Linked DNA regions of Homo sapiens: region 2 is linked to region 1. The links are contacts of gene promoters, found by promoter capture Hi-C in blood cells and fetal thymus (Javierre and others, 2016). All regions are on one chromosome and are shown on one strand. The core of a region is centred on a gene start or on the middle of the fragment in contact, and the rest is flanking DNA. Distances in the headings are between cores, read along the strand shown. Region 1 holds the start of HCFC1-AS1 (HCFC1 antisense RNA 1). Region 2 holds the start of AVPR2 (arginine vasopressin receptor 2).

Region 1 (3,228 bases), core at 425-2,924:
ACCTGCGGCTCCTCATCTCACCCACGAGTCCTGGTTCCGCCCCCTGAAAGCACACGAGCAAGCTCTCCTCCCTTCTCCCAGCTTTTCAATGTGACAGCTGCTCTCAGTCACCCCTGAATCATCTGGGGGGTGTCATGTAACCCAATCCTTGGGCCCCTCATCCTGGAAATGCTGGCTCTCAGCTGGGAGGGGAAGGTGGGGAAAGGACCCTGCACTAGATGAAGACCACTCCAGCTCCCCTCTCCTGAGCAAGGCTGTGCCCCGGCCTCTCTGTGTTTCATCAGCTCCCCCAACCACTTCATGCTCTGCAAGCTCCATCCCTGGTTGCCACTGTCCCATCACCACCTAGAGACTGGTGCCCATGCAGTGAGGTGGCCGGTCAAGTTCAACGAGCTGCCTTCCTCTCTGTTCTACCTGTCACATTAGAGCATTTCCTGTGTGGCATACGACGTGCTGGGAGGCACAGAGGACACCGATCTTGTGCTCATACTCCCAATGGGGTAGGAAGGCTGCATGCCCCCCTCCCACGATGAGACAAACACCCTAGAAGAGCTCTGACCAAGCCGGGCCCTTGGGAGCACAGAGCAGTGCGACTGCTGGAGAGGGGAGGACAGGAGTGGAAAGGGCTTCTCAGAAGAGGTGACGTTTCAGCCGGGCCTTGAAGGGTGAACAGGATTTCCCGACAAATGAAACTAGCAGGGCCAATCAGGAAGTGACTGCAAGAGTCTAGTAAGAGGAGAGGAGGGCTTGGTGTGGAAGGGGACACATTTGATGCCTGCCCAACGCAATGAACAATTAGATACAGGGACAGAGGAGAGAATGGAGGCATTTCAAAGGTGATGGGCCCCAAAGACAGGTGGCAGAACGGCCTCTATGAAGGTTTGCACTCCCGCCCAACTCCGCCACCAGCTGGGAGGGCGACCCTGGACCTGTCACTTCCCCTCTTGGACCCCAATTTCCTCATCTGCAGAAACAAGGAAGTAGTTCCACTAGGTATTTTCCAAGGCTCCCTCCAGCTCCAAGAACCTATGGACATTACAGAGCCACCGTAGCCAAAGCTCTCGCTCCCCCACCCCCCACACCTGGCAGCACTCTGAATCCTTTGGCTTGCCACATGGAACTAAAATTCCCTAAGGACAAGCACAGTAGCTACCCTAAGAGCTCTCAAAGCACACACCCCCTGAAGCTTTCTTATCCTAGCAACGGGAACCCCTTCCAGATCAGCTCTCTCCAAAGGTACAAGGCTTTTTGAGGACTGATCCCGCAGAACTGCAAGGGGCACAGGCGTGAGAATATGCCCTGATCTCATCCCAAACACAACAAAAGAAGACAAGACAAAGGTGACGAGGCCGGGCTGGCGGGAGGGGGCAGAAACCCCGGTGAGGAAGAGGGCTTCAGGTCTGCCAGCTGCTCTCTCGTCTGAGGAATTGCCGATGACAGTTTCCAAACTGCTACCCTGGAGGATCCCAGAGCTTCATTTTAAGCAGCCCTTTGGAAGGCAGGCTACCCCTCTAATGCACAACCTGTCTTTGCAGACTGGTAATGAATTCATGCCAAAGTGGTCAATTCATTTTAATAAACTAATGAATATGCAGAGGCCCCAGGAAGCCAAGGCAGCAGTGGTGGTGGACTCTGGAGCCGACTGTAATTAGGCCCCTGCCCTACTTTCTAAAATTGCATTTCCCTGCCAGGGAGCCTGCTCCAGGCCTTATGAGAAGAAAGTCGGTCCACAGAGTGGAGAAGGTGCTGCTCATGGTGACGGTGCCTCTATAAACAGCCCCACCACTGGAGAAGCCTTAGCTTACTGAGCTAATTCCTGCTACTGCAGCTGCCTGGGCTGGCGCGGGGCACCACCAACCACCAAGCGCCCCCGCCCGGGGGCTGCTGAGAAAGGCCCTGCTCCCTGGAGGCAACAGGTGCTGAGAGACCTGGAACGAAAAACGGTCACAGACAACCCACCAGCCTTTCAAAGTCAACGTGGTAGGTGGCGATAATCTCCGAGATGTGGAGAAACCAGCACTTTCTGCCTTGGGGGGTGGGGAAGGAAGCGGCACCCAAGAGCCCAGCTCCAGCCTTCCCAACTCCCTAAACCAACTTTCTCCCTCCAGGCAGCTCCAGCTTCCCACCCCCAGAGCATCGAGGCACTGGAGCTCAGCCAAAGAACAGCAGCCTCTCACCGCTCAGGACACAAAGCCCACTCAGCGAGGGTTTGTCTGCAGGGCCACCACCGAGGCCAGGGGATCGCTAGAGCCCCCAGGAGAGAACGGCCGCGGAGCAAGGGGTTAGTGCTGGGAGCCGTGCCTGCCACTCAGGACTAGGGCATCCCAAGGCCCTCCCCCAGCCGCCTGCAGGGGGCTTTTCCCTCACCCAGACTCTTCCAGCTCTTGCCTGGGACCGAACTCACCCTGACCCTGCCTTCTGGGCAAGGCCAGGGTCCTGTGGGCCAACGGGCAGTCAGTAGGCAACTTGGGAACTGACCCTTGTGCTAGGGGCACAAAACGGGCCAAGTAGCCACCAAGAAAAAGGATGCCACAAAGCTGTCGTGGACAGCAGCAGGCTTTCTGCCCTAGAGACTAAGCAAGGCTACTAGGCAGAGGCAACAACAAACGGCCCCCACGAAGGCCGTGGTGCATCAGCCATACCTGAAGAGAGAGGTTCCTCCCCTTCCCAACTAACGGGCTTTGGGTTTTGCAGGGAGGCAGAAGAGCGGGTGGGGTAACCCCCTGGATCCGCAGAAGCGGGGAGACACACGACTACGCAGGCCGCTGAGGGGTAACTGGAATTCAGCTTGTAAACCAGAAGGCACCAGATTAGGAGAAGGGGCGACTTGGAAAGAAATGCTGCAGAAGTAAACGTGGAAAGGGAGAGGCGGCCCTGCCGCCGGCCCGTCCTAGGGGTCCCCAAGGCTCCGGCATTACCCGGGTCGGCGGATGTTAAACTCTGCGTCCTAAGAGCGCTTCCCTTCCCTCCCTTTTTCGAGAGACAGAGAACGAATCTGTAATCTAGAAATGGTCATTTCTCCAGAATGGGCACTCGAGATGAGGGAGAGCTGAGCAGGCGCAGGAGAAGGGAGGGAGGGAGGGAGGGGAGCTCTGCCTGCGCCAAGGGGACACATCCGCCCGCCCCAGCCCCAGCCCCAGCCCGCTGGGTAACGGTGTGGGTCTGAAGTCACCACCGCTGGCGACAGCCCCTCTCCCTCACCAGTCGGACTAGGGGCTTTCTTTTAAC
Region 2 (3,228 bases), core at 729-3,228, 64 kb before region 1:
AGACCGCCATGCGGGCCCTTCCTCCAGATTCTTCCCTAGTTTAACAACAGGAAGCGAGGAGTCCAGGGGGGCAGAGATTGCCACGGGCCTGGCCACATTGCTAGGGGAGGTCCCAACCTGCTGCTGAGATCCGGCACTGCACAGCCTCGTTCAGGCAGAGAAACTGATAAGGAGATGGTTGTCTGCTCACCCCAAAAGGTTAGCATGGATTCCTCGCCCTAGCCGGCTTTAGACGGAGGGAACAAAGGCTTTCCCAAGGCCCTGCCAGTCCCCACCCCTGCCCATCTTACCACCGTAGTCTCCCTCAATCATCAAGTCCCATTGCACAGAAGGGGAAGCTGAGGTGCCAAGAGCTGGCGTGGCCTGTTCAAGGTCACACTACTGGGCAGGGGCCAAGCAGGGGCTGGAGCCTTGCTTTCCTATTCCCCAGCCAGGGTCCCCAAATTCTCTGCCAGTTGAGGGAAGCCATCTCCTATTCCACTGATCTGGGTGGCATTAGGAAGGCCTTTTCTATGCTCCTAGATTAGTGACAGCATGCGGTTATTGGGGACAGCATGAGGATGTGCATGCGCTGAGGAGATGCAGCTGAAGCGTCAGGCCTGGGGTGCCAGCACTCTGCAGCCTGCCCCCAAGGGGCTCTGCAAAAACATGGCAAAGATGCGGGGTGTGATGTGCACCTGTGTGTGCTGCGGGTGTGTGCGTGTGTGGTGTTGGCTGTGCGTATGTGGTGTGTATGGCTGTGTGGTGGGTACATGTGTGGGTGTGTGGCGTATGGGAGTGTGTGATGTGTGCATGTGTGTGGTGTGTAATATATGTGTGCATGGTGTGGTGTGTGTGTGGTGTGGCGTATGGGTGTGTGGTGGGTGCATGTGTGTGTGGCGTGTGGCTGTGTGCATGTATGTATGTGGTGTGGTGTGTGCGCTGTCTCTGGAAAATGCCCACCCTGTGTTCCCACCACCCTAACAGGGCCGGGAGGGGCCAGGGTGCTGCCAGGCTCTCTGGGCAGGAAGAGGAGGCCTTGGCCGCGGGCCGGACTTGGGCCTGGTCCGTGAGGCTGTTTTGGTCTCTGGCTTCACAGGCAACAGAGAAGACAGACAAACAGGAAGAAAGCAGCTGCCTTGGGCTGGGCTGGGCTGGGCTGGCCTCGGCTGAGCCAAGCCAGGCCTGGGTGCGGGGGGAGTGGAAAGAGAACTACTGGGATGGGGGCTGGAGGGGGTGTGGGGACAGGGGAAGGAGAGAGGTGTTGGGGGAGGGAGGAGGAGGGCTCAGGTACAGGGAAGGTGCGTCCATACTCATGGTATGTTCAAGAACATGAGCGAGCGTCTCTGTGTTGTGTGTTTGTGGCTGTGTGGCTGTATCATGTGAGGTTGTGTGTGGTGGGAGGGAGCCCGTGAGCACACGGAGGTCCCCAGCCCCTCTTCCTAGGACAGGTAGTTGCAGGTGGGGCAGGAGGAAGAGGGTGGGGGTGTCCCTGGATCTCACAGGGGTTCGTGAAGCCTGGCTTGGCCCCTGCCCCACTCCTCCCTTTCCTGTCCCTCGTCTCCGGCCAACTGGGCCCTAACTGGGGAGGAGGAGGGGCCTGCGTGGGCCTGGGAGGGGCCCAGCGAAAGTGTTTTCACCCCTTCCTTGCCTGGGCCCAGCGAGGAGCAGGAGGACCCCAACTTGGGAAGGGGGCGTGAAGCTCCCATGAAAAAGCAGCGCAGTCCTGGGCCAGACCCACCGCTCTCTGGCCTCAGTTTCCCCACTTATAAAATGGGAATGCTGAACTAAGTGACCTCCCAGAGCACTGCCAACCCAGACAATCCAACCAGGGGGGCGTGGTAGGGTGAGGGTGGGCGTGGAGGCTATGGCAGTGGGAGGAGGGAGTCCTGGGCCGGGACCAGGGAGGCCCTGGGGAAAGGAAGGGAAACAGGAGGCCAGGGGAGGCCTGGGGGAAAGGGGGAGGGGGAGGAAGTCCCCTCCTGGCCAGGTCACTCCCAGAGGCTGGGCTGGGCCAGGGCAGGGCAGCCGATGGAGAGCAGATCTGAGCACCCAGCCACCTTCACGCCACCGCCCAGCTGCCCAGGAGCCCAGCCAGGTAAGGGGCTGCGCCTGCCTGCCCCCCTGCCCAGTCCCCAGCCCTCGGATGGTGGCCTCTCTCGGCCTCGGTTGGGGCAGGGGAGTTCTGCGTGTCTGTCTGGGGTGCCCACTCCCAAACCCGGGACTCATGGGCTGCCTGGGGGATCCTGGGTTCTGTGCATCCGTCTGTCTGACCATCCCTCTCAATCTTCCCTGCCCAGGACTGGCCATACTGCCACCGACACGTGCACACACGCCAACAGGCATCTGCCATGCTGGCATCTCTATAAGGGCTCCAGTCCAGAGACCCTGGGCCATTGAACTTGCTCCTCAGGCAGAGGCTGAGTCCGCACATCACCTCCAGGCCCTCAGAACACCTGCCCCAGCCCCACCATGCTCATGGCGTCCACCACTTCCGGTAAGGCTTGCCCCTCCATGAGTCCGGTGGGCAGAGTGGGTTTGACGATTCAGGGAAGCCCCTCTTTCTAAAGACCTCCTTCACCCTCACCTCTGGGTGTGTCTCTCCAGGCTGCCAATGAGTGGGGAGGGGAGCACAGCCCCACTTCCCCGCCAGGGCTGGGGCTGGGGCTGGGGCTGGGGCTGCCCTTCCTTCTGGACTGCATGAGCCTGGGGTGTGTATCCCTCATAACATGGCTTTCCTGGAGTCCCCTCTGCTAGGAGCCAGGAAGTGGGTGTCCGGATGGGGGCACGGGAGGCAGGCCTGAGTCCCCCTGCACAGCACCCTCTCTAACCAGGCCCTCTTCCCGACTCCTTCCCAGCTGTGCCTGGGCATCCCTCTCTGCCCAGCCTGCCCAGCAACAGCAGCCAGGAGAGGCCACTGGACACCCGGGACCCGCTGCTAGCCCGGGCGGAGCTGGCGCTGCTCTCCATAGTCTTTGTGGCTGTGGCCCTGAGCAATGGCCTGGTGCTGGCGGCCCTAGCTCGGCGGGGCCGGCGGGGCCACTGGGCACCCATACACGTCTTCATTGGCCACTTGTGCCTGGCCGACCTGGCCGTGGCTCTGTTCCAAGTGCTGCCCCAGCTGGCCTGGAAGGCCACCGACCGCTTCCGTGGGCCAGATGCCCTGTGTCGGGCCGTGAAGTATCTGCAGATGGTGGGCATGTATGCCTCCTCCTACATGATCCTGGCCATGACGCTGGACCGCCACCG

The links. Contacts are between HindIII fragments. The CHiCAGO score rates a contact against its expected background, and 5 or more counts as called.
Region 2: a contact is called between the fragment with the promoter of AVPR2 here and the fragment with the promoter of HCFC1-AS1 in region 1, in 1 of 17 cell types (monocytes). The highest score is 5.6, in monocytes.

What each region holds. Positions count from the first base shown.
Region 1 is chrX:153,967,091-153,970,318 of GRCh38, forward strand. It overlaps HCFC1-AS1 (HCFC1 antisense RNA 1), which reads left to right and starts at 1,675. Exons shown (of 3, transcript NR_046608.3): 1 at 1,675-1,980; 2 at 2,109-2,281; 3 at 2,695-3,001. The region is part of intron 1 of HCFC1 (host cell factor C1); the gene reads right to left. RefSeq lists a silencer at 2,134-2,312 and an enhancer at 3,099-3,228. The HindIII fragment of the contact is 6,911 bases long and covers 1,185-3,228 here.
Region 2 is chrX:153,902,695-153,905,922 of GRCh38, forward strand. It overlaps AVPR2 (arginine vasopressin receptor 2), which reads left to right and starts at 1,979. Exons shown (of 4, transcript NM_000054.7): 1 at 1,979-2,077; 2 at 2,280-2,476; 3 at 2,838-3,228. The coding sequence starts at 2,452. The HindIII fragment of the contact is 5,945 bases long and covers 1-3,228 here.